Regions from separate parts of the Homo sapiens genome. Here all the other regions are linked to region 3. Evidence: promoter capture Hi-C in human tissues and cell types (Jung and others, 2019). All regions are on one chromosome and are shown on one strand. Each heading gives the region's core, a stretch centred on a gene start or on the middle of the fragment in contact. The rest is flanking DNA. Distances are from core to core; before and after follow the strand shown.

Region 1 (3,757 bases), core at 659-3,158, 890 kb before region 3:
GTGCAGCTATGTTGGATACCAAGTAAGGAACAATGATTGTTATGGAATTAACAAGATATTAACGTCGCTGCTCCTTAGTGCACTGCAAGGGTAATTGAAATACTCCAATGCTCAAGTAATCTCATGGGCTTCAGAAACATAGTACTGTATTTGGGGGGGAAAAGAACCCCAAACTCTGTTATGTCTCATTTTCATTAAAATAATAATAATAATAAGAGATCAACTCATTATGACAGTGCCTTGAAGGTTGACAAAGAAGTTGATGTTAACATGCTCACCTAACCTGGGCAGCAGCTTGTTAGAACAACTGCTTTTGAAAACCATTACTCCTTTTAATTGCTGTCATCTTCACTCAAATATCCTTGAAGGCAGTGTCTAGGCAACTGTAGCCACAGAATCATCATCAGGGAAGATGGAAATAGGAAAGACCATGAGTTCATTCTCCATCGTAGAATACAAACGTAAGCGCTAATGTGAACACTTGCTTATTCAAGGCATACTTGTTTCAATGCTTAAAATGGAAAGTTATCTTCTGGGAAATGATCAATTATTGTAAGGAGGCAGGATAATATGACAGGAAAGAAACCAAGGGCTTTGGACAGCCATACATGGTCATATTTATTAACCATAAAAGCCTGCCCACCTTTTATGCATGTGAATTCTAAGCTCAATGTGTTCAGGGGCTCAGAATGAAATGTTAATATGTAAGGTCCCCTGTCCCCTTCCAACCCTTTGTGCACCTTTACATATGACAATTGGGACTTCTTTTAATTTTCTCTGGTTCTTTAGCTTTCTGAGTTTGGAGGCTGTATCTGTCTCGTTCACCACCGTAACACCAATATCAAGCGCAACTTCCAGAATGTAGTAGGCATTTCATTCATGTGCACTGATATGGTAAATGGGGGTGCTGTATAGATTAAAGGAGTTAAGATACATGAAGTTCCCAGCATCCAGGAACTATTTAGTTAACTATTTGTCTTCTCTCCCCAGTAAACACAATTTGTTAAAATGTCTAATTTATAACTAAATTACTAAATTATAACTAAATTACTAAAGCACTTAATGCTGATACTTATTATTTATAATTATCCTATATTTTCATATCAATCTCAGAAAATTAGGGGTTTCTAAACCTTGAGTCCTTACAATATTTCTATGAAATAGGTATGGGGCAATACAGGCCCCTCATTAAGAAATCTTGATACGTAAAATTAACTAATTCAGAGAGTGAAAAGAATCACCGTAGGACTTCTATAAATATTAAGCTATTTTTGTAAACTGAAAAAATATTCTTATTTACTATAATGTGATTTATAAATAGGACTACACAAACTGTATAAAGCTAAAATGTCTAATTTTTACAGTTTAAGAAAGTAGAAATGGTATAAATATCCTTCATCAAGCATCCACATAGAAATGTTCGTAGGTTTGTGTTGAGAACTTAGGAATTCCAGTTACTGGGCCAGGAATTTCTCCTTTAGAATACACAGGTTTCTATGAGCTACCAGTGTACACGTAAACAAAATCCTCACATCTCTTCTACCTGGATTACAGATCACCAAATTCTGGTCATGACTAGCTGGTTTGGGACCTGAGGAAGGGTCAATGAGTCTGTTCTCTGTGACTACGTAAAATGAAAGACTAGCCCAGAGGCAGAGAAATCAGGTTGAATGAAAGAAAAAGCAGTCCCTTTGTTTGAAGAGATTTATTTCCCCTTGCTTAAAAAATTCAGCTGGGACCATCTCCCTTGTAACAGTTGAACCTACATAATACTAAAGCTTTGACACCCCCCCACCAACCCCTTGCCTCTGACATAAACCTCATTACCAGTGCGTTTCAAATCTTTACAAAACCTTTAGGTGCAAAAAGGAGATAGCTAAATGGCCCCCTGGAGGACATTTGCAGCCACATGACTGTATTAAAATGTACAGGTCTATCTGCCTAAGTACTTGGAGAGGATGAAGTACATCCTTCAAAGTTATGATTTCATTCTATAAACCTATGGCCTGGTTTCCTTGGAGAGCACTTGTACACTTTCTATTTTCTCAGTTGAAATCAGATAAAATATTCCCAACACTGCCTTGAGTTTAAACTAGTTGGCTCTTATCACACATTTAACCATTTACTTATTGGAGACAATAGAGTTTAATGGTTGAGAATCAGACACACACTGATTCTCATGGCCGGTGGCCATGAACTAGCTTTTTGACTCTGAGTCAGCCATCTTACTTTTATGTCTCGTTTTCTAAACCTGCAAAATGGAAAAAAAAACAGTACTACCATTTAGAATTATTATGAAGATTACTTGAGACAATACATGGAAAGCATTAAGCTTGGCTTCTAACAAGACCTCAGTAACTATCATTTTTAATATTTTCTCTTCTGATTATTTTGGTTCTTGGTCTTATCTTTTTCACCTTGGTTGTGTAAAATTTGAAACCAGATAGGAATATGTAAGCTTCAATGGTAATATAGCTGGTTAGTCATTGTATGTCATAGCTTAAACTTCTATACGTACACCTGAGGAATAAATTTACTCCCAACCCCACCCACTATCCTAACCTATCCTACAAGATAAAATTCTGTATTTTTTAGACAGAACCAAACTTCCCAGCCTAATAGATCATGCCTAATGATTTAGGTTCAGTCTGCCTTTCCCACTTTCTAATGGTCATCTCTGCAGCTCAGCCAAGGAAAACTGTTTCCTGTTGAATATACCCCCGCCTGCTTCCTTACAATGAGCCTTTCTCCTACCAGTCTGACCAAATTAGATCTATTCTTCAAAGCCAAGGCCATATGATCCTTCCTCAAGCAAATCTTTCCCAATCTCTTTAAGACATCTTTTTGTCCTTGGAGTTTCCAAAGACAAGAAACATTCCATTTTTGAGAGAGAAGACTACACATGTAGATTTAATCCCAGAACCAAAATTTAGGTGTGTGCCATTTGGCTGGTCACTTTACCTTTCTTAGAATTTTTTTTTTAATTTAGAAAATGGGAATAAGAACACCATCTTGCTTTTTTTTTTTTTTTTTTTTTTTTTTTTGATAAAGCTAAGGTAAAAACCTTAGTTCTATGAATGGGTGAATGGGTAATAGTCACTGGGCTTTTTTTTTTTTTTTTTTTTAGACAGAGTCTTGTTCTGTCACTCAGGCTGGAGTGCAGTGGCGAGATCTCACTGCAACCTCTGTCTCCCAGGTTCAAGTGATTCTCGTGCCTCAGCCTTCCAAGTAGCTGGGACTACAGACATGTGCCACCACATCTGGCTACTTTTTGTATTTTTTAGTAGAGACAGGGTTTCACAATGTTGGCCAGGCTGGTCAAGAACTCCTGTCTTCAAGTGATCCTCTCACCTCAGGCTCCCAAAGTGCTGGGATTGCAGGCGTGAGATACTATGCCCGGCCTATAGTCACTGTTTAATAAAGGCCACCTAGCACGGTCTAAATACCTCACAAACAAGAAATCACTTCCTAGTTGGCTGGATTTGAATATTTTCCCTAACATCCTATGGCTCCTTCATTTACATATTTTATGCATTAGCTAAAGCTGCAGTTTGTTCAAGTAATAGTAAACAAGGTTATTGACACTGGAAAGCTTATTATCCTTGAAAACATGGAAACTTCACAATGCTGCATATTGTACAAGGTGCACACATATTTAAGGACATTCATCAAAGTCATTAGAGTGAATGGGGGTTGCTGGGAAATAGGAGTACTGGGTAAGAAGAAGGAAATGAAACAAGACTTGCAGGAATGGATG
Region 2 (3,572 bases), core at 788-3,287, 730 kb before region 3:
ATCAAAAGATGTGGTGGTGAAGTAACAAAAAATACGATAAAAGGAAGGGCAGGGATAAAAAGAAGTGTGACCTGCCACCATTCATCCCTTGGTCAATGGCACAGAAGGGGCCTTTCTCCACTGTTAAAGAGGACAGTGGTGCAGGACTTTAAGGCAGAGGTCTGCAAAAGTGGGCAGATGTCACTGGTGGAGGGAAGAGGCAACCAAGATGGAGAAATAAAGTGGTTGTTATGGGGACAACTCAAGAACATAAGTGTGACAAGTCTCTTTGTTCCCACTATGCTAGAAGGTGGTGGATATTAAAGGAGATGGCCTTTGGTTGTGGACATACATAGAGTTACTAAACCTGGGGTAAGTGAGGAGTTTTGGAGAGCTTCATATCAGTCTACATCTTATATTTACTTAGAGACTGCAGGACAAAAACCAGAATGAATGAAGAATCTTTGTCAAGTGGGACTGAGTGTCTGCTGGGAGCTTCCCAGGCAGGTCTGTGACAGGCATGCAAGTGTTCCACAGGACAACTGGGACATGCTTCTCTGTGTGCTCTATGAATTAAACTCAACATCAGGAAAGTTGTTTGAGTTGTAGGAAAAAGGTCACAGTACTAGCATGGGTAAAAACAAAGCATGTAAAACTTGGGAATATAAAAAGGCATTGTGAGCCTGGGCCACATGGTGAAACCTGTCTCTACAAAAAATAGCTAGTTGTGGTGGTGCACACTAATTTACTCTCAGCTACTCAAGAGGCTGAGTCAGGAGGATCGCTTGAGCCTGGAAGACAGAGGTTGCATGGAGCTAAGATTGTGCCACTACACTCCAGCCTGCATAACAGATGAGACCTTGTCAAAAATAAAAATAAATAAAAATAAAGGCACTGTGTATGCAGAAGAATATTTTTCAAAACTTTTATAATATATATACACTTTTGCTATGTTTTCAGATTATATAACCATACATAGCAAGTTGTAAATAGCAGATTATAAAACTATATGTGTTGAAAGAAGCCAGATAAAATAGGCCACATATTACATGATTCCATTTAGAAGAAAGATCTAGAATAGGTCATGCTTAGAGACAGAAAGCAGAATGGCGGTTTCCAGGAGGTAGGGGTGAGGGAGGACTAGGGAGTGACTTCTTGGGCAAAGAGCTTTCTTTTGGGATGATAAAAATGTTCTGGAATTAGACAATAGTGATGGTTGCTCAACATGATAAAGGCACCAGATGTCAGTGAATTGTACACTTTAAAACAGTGAATTTTATGTGATGTGTAATTTACTGCAATTAAAGATAACCATATATGCTATATCAGTCCATTTTTGAATAGAAGAAAAACAATATTATACAGGTGGAACTGATAATCAATACAGAATATGACTCAACCTAAAGTTTCACTGGAGTGCAAGGGGAAGATAACACTTAAGAGCTGGGCATTGAGAAGATGTTTTCCAGTTACTTTCCTTTTTGGTAATACATACGGTCTGGCCAAGGTGATACTTATGGTTCTATCTACCTCTAAAATTCTCTGACTTTATGATTTGAGTTTAGAATGTTGCATGACAATTCAAAAGAAATACTTATAAAATAAATTGATGTTTGATTTCAAATGTTGGAAGAAAAGTCAAATGAGTAAAAAGAAAGTTGCTAGAATGAACAAGATGTGGAGAAACAAATACAGAAAAATAAACTGTTCTACAAAAGGAGAAACAGGGCTTATTTATGGAGAGGCAATTCTACACAAAGAACCAGGACAATAATGAATAAAAATGAAATAAGTGGAGACCAAATATTCCACCAAAGATGGACTGAAAACCCCAGTCTGAAGGGGAAAGTAGGAGGCAACCATTCAGGATGATAAAGATGACAATATGAAGAGTCAAAAGGGGAACATACAAAGAAGGAGTTTAAATGCTCCATAAAACCTTAAAGTGAGAATGTTCAATAGAAGTAGAAAAACAATCACAGTGGTAGATGGGTTTTAGGGAGACCATGGAAGAAAAGAAAAGTGAAGACACCTCAGCAAAAGTTCTGAGAATCAAAAACCACGAGGGAAGGTGGCACAGACAGAGTGAAGGCAACAAAATGAATGGAAACTGTAGCAAAATGAATGATCTGACAGCATCTAAGCATGGGCAAGATGAGAAGGGGAGCAAGAAGCAGCTTAAGAAAAATATATGGAAAGTTTGAGAATTCTGTAGAAAGAAAAAAACTAAATAATAGAGGTGTTTTGAGCCAAACGGTTTCAAGGACTATATATATACGTGTATATATATACATATATACACGTATATATCACACATATATATATGTATATATATACATATATATACGTATATATATGTGTGATATATACGTATATATATGTGTGTGTGTGTATACCTATATCTCAATACACATATATACACACCCACATCTCACACACACACGTCACACGCACATACACACACACATATACACACATACAGGTGAATATATATACTCTCACACACATACTATATATACTATTTATACACACATACATATACATACATATATACAGACACATACATATATACAGACACATACATACATATATACATAAATGTATACATCACATATAAGTGTTTGAATGCAAGCTAATGCTGGAGTTCAAAAATAAAAGATAAATGATACAAGAAAGACATTCCTAATAACCTAGGGCATTATAATTCTTCTTGGCAACTATTTCCAGTATTATTGTTCCATGTTCATATAAGGAAATTAAAACTCAAGAAGTTATATACATTTTTCACAATTCTGGAATTCTACATATCAACTCAGGATTTTAATTTAGTTCTATTTAACAGTAATATTCATACAGTTCTTTCCCACGTAATATGTTCCCTAAAGATTCATTTTTGAGATTTTTGGTTAATTTTGATTATCATCTTGAAAATGGGTATAAAAGCCTAGTTTTAGATTTAATTTTCATTTTGTTACCTGATTTCAATAAGTTCTATCTTCTGGATCTGTTTGATTGCCAAATTTTCTTCTCTAACTTCCTTCCTCCAGATGTTTCCTGTGTTCCTAGAAGTTTAAATTATGAACACAGAACACACTGCCCTATAGAAAAATGTTGGTATGATAACTGAAATGGTACTATTAATTCTTTATTTAGTGCATATTCTAAGGTACCTACACTTTGTAGGCTGTGCTAAGAACAGAGCCATCAACTAGCATGTTGTTTGTATGAAAGAATGTATTTCTGAGCTCTAAGGCAATCGGCTCAGAAACAAACCTTTAAAACACAACCCATTTATTTTAGGTTGAAGAATGCCTATGAAACATGTCCACTGTTTCATCCTTTGCTTCTAATGATCTCCAGGAATCTTCCTGGATGTTATTTCTCTGGTGAAAGTTCTCTTATAAAAAAAATTCAAGATTTTGCTTATGTCTATTTTTGCTGCTGCTATCAGTTCCTATTAGAGAGATTATTACCTAACGTTAATCACCTGACTTCCTTCTTTTTGTCATAATTATTATAACCATTACTATACGGATGAAGAAACTGAGGCTGAGAGGGGTTGGGTAATTTATCCAAGGTGAAACTGCTTCTAA
Region 3 (3,380 bases), core at 226-2,725:
GGGAAAGCCCGCCCCACATCTGAAACAGGCAGCCCGTGAAGTCCCCAAACCAGCCTTGAAACGCCGGCGTCCAGAGGCCAGGTCCCCGGCGAGGGTCCCTCCCAGCCTTGCCCGCCCCCGGCCCGAGCGCCGGGCGCTCTGTCGCCCGAAGGACGGATAGGGGAGAGAGGGGCTGGGGGAGCCCTCCGCGTCTCTCCACCGCCCCTGCCGGCGCAAGGGCGGGAGTGGAGAAGGCGCCACTCAGACTGTGGCGCTGGGCAAACTGCGGTCGCAGTTCTTCCAAGTTTGCCCGAACCAGAACGCGGAGTGAGCGCCCGGCTCGGCTCTCCGTCTGCGCCTTGCAGCCGCCCCGGAGTGACCCGGGCTCCCTGGCCAGCCGGGCCTGAGCCATCAACTAAGGGGTAGAAGGGCGCGAGAGCAGCGGGAGGCGGGAGCCAGGGTGCTCCCGCGTGTGCACACAATGAGGCGGCGGAGACGCACACCTTCCCCCGCCGAAGAAGCCGCAGGAGCATCCGCCGCCCAACACGGAGACGCGGAGTCCCATAGCGGTGGCAGAAAGTGAGCACCAACTCAGCAACAGGGGGAAGGAAGGGGACGCCGGGCGGCCAGTGGGACGTGCGGCAGCCGAGGGCTGCAGCCTGCCCCTGCAGCGCGCCCGCGCTTACCTGCGATCTCCTGGTAGGGGATGTCCGCCAGGCTGAATCCCTTGGCACCGTACGCCTGGCGGACCTCTCCGCAGCTCCGAGCCTTCACATCCGCCCCGGCGGGGAGGGAGAGCAGCAGCCCCAAGAGGGGAAGAATCACAGCCCCGATCCAAGAAGGCATGGTGCAACATACAAATCCAGCTCGGTAAACCCCACGGCCGGTGCGCTCTTCACCTTGCCCCTCAAGCCGAAAGCCCGCCAGAGGCAGCGGCGCGCTCCTCGCCGCTGCCCAGCGTCACCCCCTTCTGCCAGCCGAGGGGACGAGCAGCGCAGCCCTCTGGACTGCGCTCAGCAAACTTTTATAAGCCAGATGGACGATGGCAAGCCAACAAGGGCTGGCTGGGAAGGCTGCTGCCTTGCTCCTCTAGCCCCCAGATGGAAACGGTGCAATCAAAACGAGGAAGAGAAGGAAAAGAAGTGTTTAAAAAACCACCATGGGGGTTCAGAGCTGCAATCCGAGTTCCGAGCCGCAGAATCCTGGAGCGCTGCGGGCTCGGCTCGCCGGAGTGTGCGGCAAAGGTGGGAGCGCGCGCCGGCTCCCCCGGGAGGGAGATGGACAAGCGAGAGCGAGTGTGTATGCGCGCGTGTGTCTGTTGGTGTGAGCTCGAGGTTCTTGGGGATGTGTGTGCGTGGAGGTATGTGTTGGGGATATACGAGATCTAGGGGAAACCTCAGCTTAACACAGGCTGTGGGAGCCTGTGAGAGTCCTCCTGAAATAGGAAGAGAGAAATCCTGGAGACAGTCACTGGAGGCAAGAGGGAAGGAGAAAGGAGGGGGGAGAAAGAAACGTGCTACACATTGCACAGCCGAAATTCACAGGCCGAGTCAAAGGCAAAACCTGGACTGGATCTCTTCCTAGTCGGTAGAAAGGGGAAAAAAAGAAAAAGAAACGTACCTATTTTCTTATTCACTTCACATCCTTTATACCGATCTGAAATGACATCAATAAACAATCTAGAAAGACAAGGTAATTTTAAGTCATTAACATGTTATTAAGCTGTATTTTTATGGAGGTAAAGGATAACGCAGTTCCAATTGTTGCTCTTAATATGTGTCCCTGACCTACTGAAACACAAAGCCAGAGTGGAAATAGTCATAGACGGGAGTTCATGGGTGGCAGAGCACAATCACGGCTCTAACTAGTTGCCTAATTTCTGTTTGACTTTGTTTTTTTCTAAAGGCACACATTACAGACTGGTAGTTCTTAATTTTTAAAGGTTTGGTTCTAGACTCAACAATTTCCCCTTTTTTTATTTCAAATATCTCATAGCCTTCGATCAGAAATCATTATGCTTAGGTTTCTAATGTGTGGAGGATCGGGAAAGCTAACAACCAGACCACAGAAGCAACAAGAAAAGGAGAGCACAAGGGTCAGAGGTGCATAAAGGGACATAATGGGGGAAGGGAGGTGATTCCTTCCCTCTCACTAGATGCCCTCACATAGTAGACTTAACATTTTCTTCCAAGTTAACATAATTCTCAAGTGGAGAATCAATCCAATTTCTTCTTCCTGTCTCCATTTACACTGATGTTCTGTGAACGGGATAAAAGTGAAAATTCAGGTTTGCCTAATTGACTTTGTTATGCTAATGGACGCACTAAAGTCAGCTGGCAGAAGTGTGTGTTGAAACCCAGAGCTCCTGAAACTACTAAGATAGTTTAATGAAAACCAAGACAAAATAATAATAATAATAGTGTTTATTCACTTACGTGGCTATGTGTCATAGGTCAGCACATTATTCACAAACTACTACAAGGTAATGCACAGTTTTGTGGAGCTCACCTATGAAGCTACACATGAAGATGTTTTCCTGATGATGATATGAATGACCAGAATGACTCATGAAGTTTAAATCTTTGAGTTTGTCATTATCATCACAACATATTAGGTACATTGTCTTCCTCTCTTTAATAAATTCCCCCTCTCCTAACCACCAAAAAGACTCTCAAGATTCAACCTCATTTAACCTTTCCAAACGCTTTAAAAATGAAGTCGACTTATTTACAGAGCCACTTTGTCTTCTTCAAACTCATAGGTCAAGACAAAACAAAACCAAAAAAAAAAAAAACAAAACAAAACAAAAAAAAAAACTCCATAGCTAAATCTTTCTGAAAACGCAACACACTTAACTTTTTTTCTCTTAAAATTTTAGCACAGTTTTTTGCTTTCACAATATTTATGCTAACTGGCAGATCTTAAATCACTGAACTTATTTTCCCTCAAGTCGGAAATCAAGATAAAATATATTCTGGTTATGTTTGTGGACAAACGGTGAGGTTGATAGGCTCAGGAATTGCAGTCAAGTTATTACTTCTGTCATATTTGACAACGTGACTTCCTTCAAACTTCTCTTTGTATCATAGTAAAGCATTATGCACTCCAGAGGAAGAGGGTAAAAACACACACTTCCTGTCCTACCACCTTATCCTGGGACTCATTGTAATTTACCCTGACTCAGTATAGCAGATAATTCATTATTTTAAATGGAGGTAAAGGAAGAATGGGTAAAAGCATAGTATATGTGGTTTTAAATTATTTGAAGATCAGCTAATTGTTAAGTATTGAATGAGCACTCAATACAACTTTATAGCACTAGACTATTGCACACCGTCCCTATACTTATAAAATGATCTTAGGATTTGTGGCAAAGATATTACATGAGACGAATGACTAAA
Region 4 (3,589 bases), core at 1,004-3,503, 810 kb before region 3:
AGGAAACCTAATTCTATTACCAATGAATATAACAACATTCAAGAAGATGACTAACCTAAGTAACTAAGAACATAACTAACCTAAGTAATTTGAAAAGCTATTTTGACTGGATACCACAAACCTAAAGGCAAAATAAACTCTACAGAAATACTGTGCTCTCGCTGGTCAATATATTTCTTAAAGGAGTATGGGTTAGCAACTCCAACTTATATACATTCTGTCTTTAACAAATATGTTAATATATTGCAGATAAAGAAAACCGGATTTCTCATTGTTGGAGAAAGATGTTGCAAATAAGGAAAGAGAAGGCTAGAATGAACTTTGTGGTGTTCAGCTGGCATCAGTATGAACTCACAGACAGATATATACATATACATATACACACAAAATATACACACAAAATGAAGTATATAGTTTAGTTAATAGTATTATAGCAATGTTAATTTCCTGGTTTTATTATTGTAGTATGATTATGTATGTATGTTGTTAACATTAGGATCAGGTGAATGATAGGTATGTGTAAATTTGGTACTATTTTTGAAACTTTTTTGTAAGTTGAAAATCTTCAAAATCAATGTTAGTCATAAATTTGATAAATAAATAATAAATATAAATTGTCAGTATGTATGAAGTAGTATACATACACATATTTCCTAGTGTATTTTGGAGACAGGGCTTCATAGCAATGACCCTCCAGTAGCATCGAGCACGTCTAGTGCCCAGACCTTGGTTTCTAATACCATTCTCCAATAAAGGAACTAGTGCTCCCCGGAGAACAGGTAGGTTTTAGGACTGATGCAGGAAAAATACAAAATGATCCTGGTATATCTTGTAATGGTAAAAATGAGAAATTGCTTCAAAAATGATGGGGACCATGTCAGAAGGATATAGGACCCAAAAGTAAGGAGCTCCCAATGTACAAACCTGGAACAATTTGAGCAACAAAATAAATAATGACATTATTGGATTATACCCATAGAATATAACGAATGACCATGAGCTCATACCGATATAAATACATAACTAAACAGATAAGAAGTTGGGAGAGAAAAAAGATCCACTTTTTCGGGGGAAGAATTCCAATTAATATATAAAGAGGGAAAAAAGGAAATATAAAATCACCAGTATGCAAATACTACAGTAATAGCTGCTACAGGCAAAATCCTTTGATGGATGCTAATATCAGAGGTGAAAGGTTGAGGAGAAACAGGATATTAGCATAGACTTCAAATACTTTCCCTAAAAAACATATCACCAATAATGGGATAAAATACAGTAACTCTACAGTGAAAAATACCAGCAGACACTAGAAAATATCAGAAGAACCCAAATCGAGAAATATTCTACAAAAGTAACTGATCAGTGTTTATCAATAGTGTCAAGGTCATAAGAGATAAGGAAAGTGGAGAAAGTGTCACAGATTGGAGAAGACTAAGGAGACATGACATCTACAGGCACATGGAATCCTGGATTGGATTCTGACACATGAAAAAGATAGGGGATAAACTAGTGATATTAAAATGAGGTATGTAATTTAGTTAATAGTATTATATCAATTTCTTGGTCTTATTGTTGTAGTATGGTGTATTAGGAAGTTCTTACATTGCTATAAAGAAATACCATAATTCATAAAGAAATGAGGTTTAATCGGCTCACAGTTCTGCAGGGTGTACAGGAAGTATGGTGGCTTCTGCTTCTGGGGAGGCCTCAGGAAACTTACAATCATGGTGGAAGGCAAAGGGAAAGCAGGCATATTTTACATGGCTAGAGTAGGAGGAAGAGAGGGAAGGGGGAGGTGCCACATACTTTTAAACAACCAAATCTCAGGATAACTCACTCACTCATTCACTCACTATCATGACGACAGTAGCAACGGTGATGGTGTTAAACCATTCATGAGAAACTGTCAACATGATCCAATCATCTCCAACCAGGCCCCACCTTCAACACTGGGGATTATAATTGAACATGAGATTTGGGTGGGGACACAAATCCAAACCATATCATATGGTTACGTATGTATGTTGTTAACATTAGAATAAGGTGAGTGATAGGTATATGTAAATTTTGTACTACTTTTGCAACTTTTTTGTAAGTTGAAAATCATTTTGAAACAAATGCTAAAAAATAATTTGACTTTAGGAAGATCGAGAATAAAGAATAACAATTGGTAAAGCTACTTCTTTACCAAAGTCCCTGGGATATAAAGCTTATATGTCAAGTTTAATGCATATATACTAAACCCCTGGTAAGTAAGAATCTTCTAATTTGAAATTTTATTCATTCAGATAAAGGCTTGGCTAAAAGTTTCATTTTAAGTGATCGTCCAGAAAAGATTGTGTATGTTCAGGAGAATGTTAAGATTTCTAAATTAAACAGAGAAATGCTTTAAGCAAAAATGACATACTAATTAAAGCTCATTCTTATTTCTGGAAGCATAAAAAGATCACACGTGGTATTACCTGGCAGATAATAGGTAGCCAATAAAAAGTCAAGCTTAAATTTAAAAATAAGTCCCCTAATGCCTTCTAGAAGGCAATAATTTGATGTTTGTATCCTTGCTCTCTCAATTAGTACAGATTACTATGACTTCTCTGTGTAAATGGATACAGATTTATCAAGAAGGATCACAGACACTTCCATAAACTGCCATCATAGCTCTCAAGTGGCTATTCCTCTGCTGAATTAAGAGGTTTCAGATGGAATAATTTGACTTCCATCTTGTAACTGATTTGCAGAATGAGGCATATACTTTATCATTTTGCTTCCAAGCTATCAATGTCTGCATCTTATAAATGTCCGGATGTAACTCTAAATTAAACTTTTCTTACATTTTAAAGGTTGATTTAGCAGGTTTGTGATGTTCATACCTTCACTGGCAATTCACAAGCAATCTGATGTCTAGTGATCACAGATCAAAATGGATAGGAATCAATGCATGGCACAACAGAATTAAAATAATGTTTTTCAATTGTGAGGCACTTAGAAGAAATGGATTTTAATATCTATCAATTCCACATGTAAATCAAATGAATCCTGAAACTAGCTTCTCCAAATCGAATTCAAAGGAAATGTAGTAAGGACACGTAGTAACCATTCAACACAATTCATTGTTAAATTTTTTTAATATTGCATGGCCACTATTAAAGTATTTGAAATTTTGATCTCAAAACCCAAGACTCCTATGTGAGTTAGGAAAAATAAATATAAATCCTCTATGAAGAAACTGGAAGACTGAATGCAGCCTATAGGCTCAGCCTTTCATCTGGCCACATGCTGCAACCTGAAATCATCGTTCTCAGGCTTGACCTTTCCTCTCACTTTGTTCTGGCAGCTTTCCAAAGAGGGATAGGTGGTTTTAGGGCATTTTCTTGTGTTACAAATCAAATAATATTTCATGGCTTTCACCTTTAATGGGCTAAGCAGAAGGCATTCGACACAAGTCACTAGGGAGGCTTGGGGAAATTATTTATACTCTAGGGCATTCTTAAATCAGTAACTTGGCAATTTGGGATTCAAAAAACGTCACTGGTATCTCGAATGTTTCATTGCAGAAGCTGCATCATGTATATTTGTGTTGTTCCTTGGG
Region 5 (3,209 bases), core at 299-2,798, 640 kb before region 3:
ATGTATTTTGCTACATTACTTAGTAGCACGGGTATATTAAAAGGAGCTGAATTGTTAAAGGTCTTGTACCCCAACCAAAAATTAAGTTTTAAAATGGTGCAGGAAGACTGCCTTACTCAATTGAGCACTACATAAAGAATAGAAGCAGTTCCGAACTTCTCTCCTCCTACTTGCAGCCAACAGTATTTGTGGGTTGTGGAAAAGGGAAAGGGAATAGAGAGAAATATTTGCATTTAATGTTGTTGTTGGCCAGAGGAGATATCACTTAGATATACTCGAAAGAGGGTTCAGTCAGGTTAAAATCTGACATCAATCCATTTTCTTTGTCTTGGATTATGTTTGGTTTGGTGTGTCTGCTCGTCTCTCAAATAATATTAATAGTATGAAAAGTGCCCTTCAGCAACAACTTGGTGAGACAAATACTTCTATGTAGTACCAGATATTTGCCTAGGGATTTCTTTGTCCTTTTGGCAGTGAAAGAGAGGGAAAGAGAGACCTTTACATAAATCCTGTATCCCAGTTAACTCCTTCCTTTTCTCCATAAATATCCAAAGTTAAAATATCACTCGTGAGGAGAGGAACATGCTATCAAAAATTTCTGTGTGAAATTGTACACTTAAGTTAAGCAATGCTGTAAGCAAAATTATTAACTTATTATTTTATAATTTTATTCTGTATCTATCATTACAATCATTAATTGAATTATTATTAACTTAATAAAAGAAGCATAAGGAGATATAACTATATAGACAGAAATGTTAACACTTATAATATAGGCTATTAGGATTGAGGGTCTTATCCTAAATATTCAAGTGTGCAGACAACCTAGCTAACATTACTGAAAAAGCATGAGATGAGGTTTGGCAGAGAACAAAAGCTAGTAAATGAAGTCCATGTTTATGAATATGACAAGCGGGCACCATGGGAAGAAGCATTGTGGTCTAACCCAAAAATATTATGCATCAAACTTTTAGCATGTGTGAAGTCTCCCTCAAGTGTGGAAACATTCTTCACTTGATCCTACTCTGCAGAAAATCCATGGAAGGTTTACCAAGGCATTCTCCCGAGTAACCTCAGGGACTTCACTCTGGTTTTCATGTTTCTAATGTGAAGAGGAGAGATGTAAAAATATGTTACCTCGTCTCTGTGTAACTCCTGCTGCCCTTGTGTAATTCTTCAGGTCCATACAGGCTTTGGACCTGGGTCCCACAACAAGACATGGATTCTCTTGCAGCTCATTCTGAAGAAAAGCGTGAGACTGAAAGAAATGTTGATGATTTAAGCTTCAAGAATGAAGTTCCTGCACTGATGGTGAGTGTACACTAAAAGTTGTGGTGCTAGGTACCAGGAATAGAGAGATGAAAAGGACTCAGAGTTAATCATCTTGAAAAGCTCACAGTGGAGCAGGAGAAGCAAATAGGTTACCAGTGATGTCAGCGGTCAAGGCTGTAATAGATGGAGTGTTGATTCCATCCATTTGGGGCATGTTGACAAGGGTTTCCGAGAAGAGTTTATACAAATGGAATGACTAGCCTTTCTTGAGAGCTTATTACAGGACACACATGGTTCTGAGGGCTTTATAATCATTCTAATTTACTCTTTTCAATGAATTATGCAGAAGGCTTTATTAATAACCCTATTTTAGAGATAAGGAAAGTAAGGTTTGAAGATGTTCAGTAGCTTGTCCAACATCCCATAGCTAAAGAATGGCAAAGTCCAACGTCCAACTCCAGTCTGCAGACTTCTCAGTTCACACACAGGCTGTCATGCCCTACCTCAATGTTAGAGAGACGTCAAAGGAACAAACAGAGTTTATTAAACCAACTGTAAAATGTTCCAAGTTTTCTACAAAGAGTTTTCTAGAACAAACTGTAACACATAACACTGTTGTCCAAAGACATTTCACCATAATATAAGCAACCTTGTTTCATGAATTGGGGATATCCTGGAACTATTCCATGTAAATGAAATTTTTGGAAATAGCCTCACTTAAAAAAAAATCAACATACTGAGATATACATTTCAGTCATCTCCTACCCCAACCACTAACCCTGGACAAGCACTGAGGTGTTTTCTGCTAGGCTAAACTTTGGTTTTGCATTTCAAGTAAAGGAATAAGACAGAAGATGTTCCTTTGTTTCTGAACTTTAATTTTTGCTAAAAATTATTTACATTATATATTTTTAGAAATGTTTATTTTTTGACTAACAATTTTTAGAAAAACTTTTAGGTTCAGGGGTACATGTGCAGGTTTGTTACATAGTAAACATACGTAATGGGGGTTTGTGATACAGATTATTGCATCACCCAGGTATTTAGCCTGGTACCCATTAATTATTTTTCCTGATTTTCTCCCTACTCCCACTCTTCACACTCCAAAAGTCCCCATTGTGTGTTGTTCCCTTCTGTGTGTCCATGTGTTCTCATCATTTAGCTTCCACTTATAAGTGAGAACATGCACTATTTGGTTTTCTGTTCCTGTGTTAGTTTGCTAAAGACAATGGCCTCCAGCTCCATCCATGTCCCTGCAAATGAAATGATCTTGTTCTTTTTTATGGCTGCACAGTATTCCATGGTATATATGTACCATGTTTTCTTTTTTCAGTCTATCACTGATGGGAATTTAGGTTGATTCCATGTCTTTGCTATTGCGAACGGCGTTGTGGTGAACATACGCCCATTACTGGGTATATACTAAAAGGAATATAAAACATTCTATTATAAAGATACATGTTTCTGGACCCTACAGCTCTGTATATCTCTGAGATTCATCCATGTCAATTCATGAATCGGTTTTGTGTTCCTTTTTCCTGTTCAGTAGTATTCCTTTGTATGGCTACACTACAATTGTTTACACAGTCTCCTACTGAGGGATAGTTGGGTTGTCTCTAGTTGTTGGCTGTAAATAACATTACTTTCAAAAAGGCATATAGGCACTTGCTTTTCAGAAGAATGCTACAGTGAATCATCCCACCACTTACCTGCTTTTCAAAACTTGCAGAGTCCACCACTCTTTGGTTTTGGACACATCAGGCCATTGATTCTGGCTTCAAGGACTCCGCCTCTGCTCATCGGTACCCTTAAGCTTTGACTCATGCCCTCTATTTCTGCATGGCACTTAACCAATTTTGGTCTATGACTTTTGGTTTGATTCAAATCATGTGACCTCAGAGAATCCCACCCATCTAAATTGACCTAAAATAATATCT
Region 6 (3,308 bases), core at 582-3,081, 640 kb after region 3:
GAGTCCTCGGTTCCAGATATTTTGTAATCCAAAAGAAAATAGAAAGTGAATTCAGAAGGAATGTTTGAGTGAAGTGTCAACTGTCATGACTCAGCTCTGATAGCAGATTAAACCACCATGAGAAAAGCAGTGGGAAGAAACAAAGGAAGAGAGTAATGACATCCCCTTGAAGGTTTTGTTCAGAAAAGTTAATGTTGGGAAAGGTCTCCTGTGCGCAGTCTGTCAATTCTAGCTTAGCTGCATAGGAACGGGTTTTGGGCGTGGAACACTCCCTTTTCAATAGATAAACTGTCCTCACACAGCCTGTTCTGGGCTTGTTGCCTTGTGTAGGAACAGCTTTCCATGTTTCATTCTCGGTGTGTCCTCCTTTGTTCTTAAGTGCATGCTTCCATGGCCCTCATGCATGCCCCTAGCTTTCTGTATTTCAGATTCCCCGCAGGGAAAGGCGTTGAGGTACTTTCACTACAGCAGGAAGTGGGCTATGTGCAGTTAAGACATCCCCTCATGTTGGCTGGGGAATAGATCCCTGGCCATGGGGGCCTGAAGTATTGCAAGGAGCTGGATCTTGTGCATTCTCTCTCTCTTCTTGCTATAAACACTGCATCACTACTGCCTAGTGTGCACGTTGTCTGTTCCCAACAACCTCTAATTATGCACTCATCTCTTCCCTGGGTGGCACTCATCAACCTTTTAACCTTGGCCACACAGCCCGAACAACAAGCAGTGAACTAGTTAATTTGGTTCTTAGTACATGTATATTTTGTAATACCAGTGATTATCATTTCGATTGACTTAAGTAAGTAGGATTATACTTTACACATGTGAAACAATGATGAATGTCATATTTCTCTAGCATACAAAATACTAACTCTGAATCCTATGTGGACTTCTCTCTAGTTTAACTAATTTTATACAAGTAAAATAACTTGATTGGGTCACCACAGACCTGATTACCTTATTTGTTGTGACAATGAAACTGTTTATGGAATTTGGCAAAGCAATATTTAGAAAAGTAACTATTTGGGTTGGAGAATAACACAATGCCATGATCATAAAATCTCATGAATTATTCTTCTGCTCACTAACAATTTTATGATGTTTAGGAAGAATAAAACATTTTTTATGATTTTAAAATAAAAGAAATCATGATTTGATCAGAAATGTTGGGCATAATGGGGCAGGATCCAATTTTGGGGAATAAAGCTGGGGAATAAAATGGACCTTTGTGAATTAGAGAATATTGTCTCTAGCCTCAGGGATGAAAAACAACAGTAGAAAATCGCAGCACTATGAGTAAATGCATGATGCTTCCTTGCTGCACTGAACTCATGACTCTCAAGGTTTCAACTCAATCTTCTCATTTGAAAGAACAGGAGAAAAGGAATATTCTCTAGTCCTCCTCCAAGTTTTGGTACAGCCGGTAGATGGAAATCTTTCTAGTGTTACTCAAGGCTGCAAACAGCTTCATGGGAACAGAACATCGTTAGTGCTAATTTACTAGGACCTACCATGAACGCATTTGGTAACCAAAGTCAAGAAACATTTACTTCACTGAGTTGAAGAATGGTTCCTCTAGTACAGATACAAAGAAACTGCCACATGTTTTTCTTCCCTTGAGACATAACTCTGGAAAGCACCCCCCTCAACTTTACCTGAAGCCTCTCATTACTTGCACATTTTCTCCCAATGTTAGTGAGAGATTTCTATACACCTTGGTTAGGATGAGACTTCTACATAAAATGACTTCTACATAAAATTAGAAATCCAAGCAAAAATTGCTTTACAGATCAAAGCAGTATTTTTATTTGCTGTATGACCCAGGATGCCAACTGTATGGAACTAATACCTCCTCTATCAGGGACCGGGACAATTTTCAGATAATTATAAAAAACATGCTATTGTAGATAGTGGTGCAATAAACATACTCTCTAAGTTGTCTTATGGAGTCCTACTACATAGTTCTATATTTCATATGACTTGTACTGCTGAATTAGAACAGACACATAGAAAGGACAGGGCCAGGGCACATGCCTAGAAAGAGACTAACAGTGTTATTATATGATGAGAAAACCTGCTGAACAACAAGCTCATAGCTATCTGGATAGGGAGAGCTATTCAAAAGGGCTTATCTAAAGCAGATCTTCACAAATGGAAAGTGCTCAATAAATAAACTCAACAAGGAAACAAAACAGTGGGTAGCAGTGTAGATGACTCAAGTGTCTGTTTCAGAGAGCAACACACGCAGTGTTAAGGCTGCAATAAACATGTGCATTTTCTTTATAGTAGAATGATTTAGAATCCTTTGGGTATCCCATCAATGATAGACTGGATAAAGGAAATGTGGTACATTTACACCATGGAATACTATGCAGCCATAAAAAAGAATGAGTTCATGTCCTTTGCAGAGACATGGATGAAGCTGGAAACCATCATCCTTAGTAAACTAACACAGGAACAAAAAACCAAACACCGCATGTTCTCATTCATAAGTGGGAGTTGAACAATGAGAACACATGCACACAGGGAGGGGAACATCACACACCAGGGCCTGTTGGGGGCTGGAGGGAAAGGGGAGGGAGAGCATTAGGACAAATACCTAATGCATGTGGGGCTTAAAACCCAGATGATGGGTTGATAGGTGCAGCAAACCACCATGGCACATGTATACCTATGTAAAAAACCTGCATGTTCAGCACATGTATCCCAGAACTTAAAGTAACAAAAAAAAGAATAGGCCTTTCAAAAAAAAAACCCCAAAAAACCTGATCTATACCCAGTAATTCCAACCAGCATATTACACCTAACCACAGAGAATATGTAACACCACTCTGGAGGGTGGAGACGGGGTTTGAGAGCATGGCTGCCTCCAGGAGTGAATGCCCAGGAAGCTGAGCATTTACAGGGATCAGAATTACTGGCTGGAATGGTGATGGAAAGGCTGTATCTATATTTTTATTTTTCTTTTGTTAGCAAATCATAGGCTCAATAATTTTAAACATTAAATTTTTATTGAGACTAGACGATATGCTCTTTTCCTTACATAGCCATTCTCTCAAATATTCTTCTGCAGGAGTACCATAAATAATGTACAATAAGATTTTTCCCTTTTTCTTTTTAATTCTGTTTTAACAAAATATTGCCTGTTAGACAATGGGGTGGTATAATAAAAACCATCCTCACTTTGGAGACAGACGATTAAGGTTCAAGTCCTGGCTATGACATTTACTTGTAAACCTTGAGAGAGTCACATAATTCCATGAATTTTCATTGCATATTAAAATGAAAGAATACTAATTCCCATGTACCTC
Region 7 (3,268 bases), core at 727-3,226, 660 kb after region 3:
TTTTACTCTTTGACTTTTAATGCCCCTTTTGGTTACATTAAGCCCATTCGATTAATCCAGGATAATCTCCCATTCTAACATCAGTTGATTCACAGCATTCATGCCATTTTTAACCTTAATTCCACTTGATCATGTAACTGAACACATTCATGGTTTCTTGGATTAGAATATGGACATCTTTGGGGAGGAGGCATTATTCTGTTCACCACAGCCAGCAATCATATTATCAGCCTGTGAAATTTTGTGTCGAACTGGGTCATTACAGTATCAATTATGTGATAAAAGTGATAAATTCCCCTTTGCCTACAAATGCTGAAGAACAGGGTAAAGATGATGGGTTTTCTGTGCACAAGTTGAAGCAGACAATGCCAAAAGTATTTTATGTATCATCAAATCTTTGGGAAATTTTGGCCTCGGGAAATTTTTAGCACTGGGAACATGGCCTTTAAGGAAATAACTGTCCATTTTGTGTGAATACCTGATGTGGGTAAAGACTTCCTCATCCTTTCAAACAAGAAGCAGCCAAGTATCAAGTCTTTATCAACTTCTATGCCAGCTGTCTTTGTAGATGGCATCAAAGACTCCCTGAAAGTTTTGCTAATATACCAGACCTTAAAGGTCAATCATGAAGAATTTCAATGTGTCATCAAATATTTATTATAATCATCCTCTAGGTCAATAATAGCAAAAAAGCAAAAAACCTAAATTCAGAATTAAATAGAATAAGTTTGACAAATTTGGTAATCTCTTTAATATTATTATTTACATTTTTTGGCATTATGCTATTTAGCTCTTGTAGTTTGGCCTCTCTGATTGGGAATTGGAAGGTGGGATCAAAATGCATCAATACAACTGAAGAATAAATTCTTACATTCTGGGTGAGGACATAGAACACACTGGAGCATTGATGGATTTGTTATTTACCCTGTTACTGCAGAAGACCAAACCATAACACTAGAGCCAGATTATCATGAAAATCAAGAAAAAGCTAAAATGTGTTTGAGGACAACTGCATTTATTTGCTAATGGCTGGACTGACTTAAAATCCATTAGCCTCTTCAAGGGCCACGATCAATACTTTTGAAACTTTCAACTCCCTTGGGGCCCTGAAAGCCTGTGGGCTGTGATGTAATGAATTGACTGCATCAGCTTATTTTCCATATTCTTCTATTCAATCTCCTTGTCTTCATGTGATTCATTTAGCTTTAAAGATATTAAAATGTAATTTGAAATATTGGAAACAATATTCTCTTAAATCAAGTTCTGTATATCTCCAAACATTTTGATTTTTACTCATGAGAAGATGACAGGTGCTGATTTCTAAATTGATAGCTATTCAACAATTTCTGAGCATAGGATCATCTTCCTGCTGAACTGTTATTAAATTCTACCTGGAAAATCAGTATTTCAATAGTGTATAGGACCTTTAGGGGTCTGAGACATGCACCTTTCCATGGCCTCTAACAGATTATCAAGATTAAATGATAATATGTTCTAAAGTCAAGAAGACCTCTGATCCCATTAGTTGAGTTATAGTTATTTCCTCACCAGTTTGTATTTTATACTGTAATTATATAATTATTAAAATGACTGTTGACAAAAATAAATTTGACTTCATAAACAATACTGAATACATTGTAATATCTACTAAAGGTTGATCACTAAAAAGTTCACGTCAAATTAGGAAGGAGAGACACATTCTAAATAGAAGGGTAAAAATGTGGACTCATTTTGCTTTAAAAAATCTTTTTAAAAAAACTTGAAAGAAAAATGTATCATCTTTATATAAAACAAAAAATAAGGTGAAACTTCAATCAATAGGCCCCTTCTAAAAAACAAAAAGTCACTTGCTTTAGTTGTAAGTGTGGCAAATGAATGTAAATTTCTACATATTTAATTGAAATAAAATGTAGATACATATTTTTATGATTATTTTACAACTCTGTGCTCTAACCAAGTTTCTTCCTTAGTGGAAAAAACTTGTGGTCTTAGTTTGAGAGATAGGGCAACTTTACTGAAAGTTATTAACTCTTTATTTTAATTTTAATTGTAACTGCAAAGCACTAAGAACCCTTGCTCACAACACTTTGTAGCAGTGAAAAAAAGCTATATGTGAGACAACGTCATCCAAGGGGAGGAACTATGGCCTTGAAGTGAGGTTGGCAGGTTTTTATTTGCATGACTCTGGACGGAGATCTTAATCACTTAGATTCAGTTCCTTTATTTAAAAAGATAGAACTTATAAAACTAATCTTTAAGAAAAGAAATAAAAAAACCAAGGTGAAAGTGCCTGGAGCAGTATAATCACTCAATAAATGTTCGTTTCTTTTTCCTTCAGTGGAATAATATATAACCCATTTTGGAAAACTTATGTAAAAATGTGTTGATTTCTTCAAAATCTATTTTCCTTTAAAATATTTACGTATTCTTTAAAGCTTGCTATTTCAGACAAAATTATGCTTAATTGACAAATACTTTAGGTATTAGTGGACTCCAGAATGGCTTATGAGTCTTAAAAGGGAAATGAGTGCATTTTTACCTTCCAGAAGAGTCCTGTTTTCTTGCCTAAAAGTGAATACAAGAAGAGTAGAAGAGGTGTCACACCTTTTACATCTGGGTGTTTAATGCAGTTCTGCCTTTGATTTGCCAATTGTAAAGTTTATCTGATTATTTCCTAAAATTTTCTGATTAGGATAAAGAAAGAATAACATCTTTTATTTGGATTTAAACCAACTCGATCTGAAGTAAATTAGCCTCAAAATAATGGTGTTAGCTGGAGGCCATTATCCTAAGCAAATTAATGCAGGAACAGAAAAACAAATTCCACATGTTCTTACCTGCCGATGTGAGCTAAGCCTTAAGTACACATGACCATAAAGATGGGAACAATAGACAGTGGGGTCTGCTAGAGGGAGGAGAGAAGAAGGGGAAAAAGGACTGAAAAACTACCCATTGGGTACTCTGCTCACTACCTGGGTGACGGTAACATTTGTATCCCAAACTTCAATGTCCTACAATATACCCACGTAAAAAACCTGTATATGTATCCCCTGAATTTAAAATAAAAAATGAAATTATAAAATAATTAATTAAACACCAAAAAATAAAATGAAGCAGGAAAAATAGACACAAAAATAATAACAATGGGGCTAGCTATATTGCATTAAAACATCAACACAAAACACATGGACAACTCTCTTTAATACCTCAATCTTCATTAGGTTAGTGAATAAAGCAATAGAAAAACTCCAATTGTATAATTTCATTA

Evidence for each region. Contacts are between HindIII fragments. The study calls those that stand out against the background at their distance.
Region 1: a fragment that was not itself captured here is called in contact with the fragment with the promoter of GPC6 in region 3 in 1 of the 25 tissues and cell types used here (mesenchymal stem cells).
Region 2: a contact is called between a fragment that was not itself captured here and the fragment with the promoter of GPC6 in region 3, in 1 of the 25 tissues and cell types used here (liver).
Region 4: a contact is called between a fragment that was not itself captured here and the fragment with the promoter of GPC6 in region 3, in 2 of the 25 tissues and cell types used here (IMR-90 fibroblasts and dorsolateral prefrontal cortex).
Region 5: a contact is called between a fragment that was not itself captured here and the fragment with the promoter of GPC6 in region 3, in 1 of the 25 tissues and cell types used here (mesenchymal stem cells).
Region 6: a fragment that was not itself captured here is called in contact with the fragment with the promoter of GPC6 in region 3 in 2 of the 25 tissues and cell types used here (hippocampus and mesenchymal stem cells).
Region 7: a fragment that was not itself captured here is called in contact with the fragment with the promoter of GPC6 in region 3 in 1 of the 25 tissues and cell types used here (dorsolateral prefrontal cortex).

Annotation. Positions count from the first base shown.
Region 1 is chr13:94,113,384-94,117,140 of GRCh38, reverse strand. All of the region lies in intron 4 of GPC6 (glypican 6), which reads right to left. Among named protein-coding and RNA genes, the nearest start is that of GPC6-AS1, 73 kb to the left of the region's middle. The HindIII fragment of the contact is 4,299 bases long and covers 1-3,757 here.
Region 2 is chr13:93,951,608-93,955,179 of GRCh38, reverse strand. The region is part of intron 3 of GPC6 (glypican 6); the gene reads right to left. Among named protein-coding and RNA genes, the nearest start is that of GPC6-AS2, 95 kb to the right of the region's middle. The HindIII fragment of the contact is 8,481 bases long and covers 1-3,572 here.
Region 3 is chr13:93,224,902-93,228,281 of GRCh38, reverse strand. It overlaps GPC6 (glypican 6), which reads right to left and starts at 1,475. Exons shown (of 9, transcript NM_005708.5): 1 at 666-1,475. The coding sequence starts at 825. RefSeq lists enhancers at 40-882, 3,289-3,380. The HindIII fragment of the contact is 15,285 bases long and covers 1-3,380 here.
Region 4 is chr13:94,040,362-94,043,950 of GRCh38, reverse strand. The region is part of intron 4 of GPC6 (glypican 6); the gene reads right to left. Among named protein-coding and RNA genes, the nearest start is that of GPC6-AS1, 150 kb to the left of the region's middle. The HindIII fragment of the contact is 5,247 bases long and covers 1-3,589 here.
Region 5 is chr13:93,865,885-93,869,093 of GRCh38, reverse strand. All of the region lies in intron 3 of GPC6 (glypican 6), which reads right to left. Among named protein-coding and RNA genes, the nearest start is that of GPC6-AS2, 9.0 kb to the right of the region's middle. The HindIII fragment of the contact is 5,943 bases long and covers 1-3,209 here.
Region 6 is chr13:92,587,335-92,590,642 of GRCh38, reverse strand. The region is part of intron 7 of GPC5 (glypican 5); the gene reads right to left. Among named protein-coding and RNA genes, the nearest start is that of MIR548AS, 99 kb to the right of the region's middle. The HindIII fragment of the contact is 4,822 bases long and covers 1-3,308 here.
Region 7 is chr13:92,564,329-92,567,596 of GRCh38, reverse strand. All of the region lies in intron 7 of GPC5 (glypican 5), which reads right to left. Among named protein-coding and RNA genes, the nearest start is that of MIR548AS, 76 kb to the right of the region's middle. The HindIII fragment of the contact is 6,248 bases long and covers 1-3,268 here.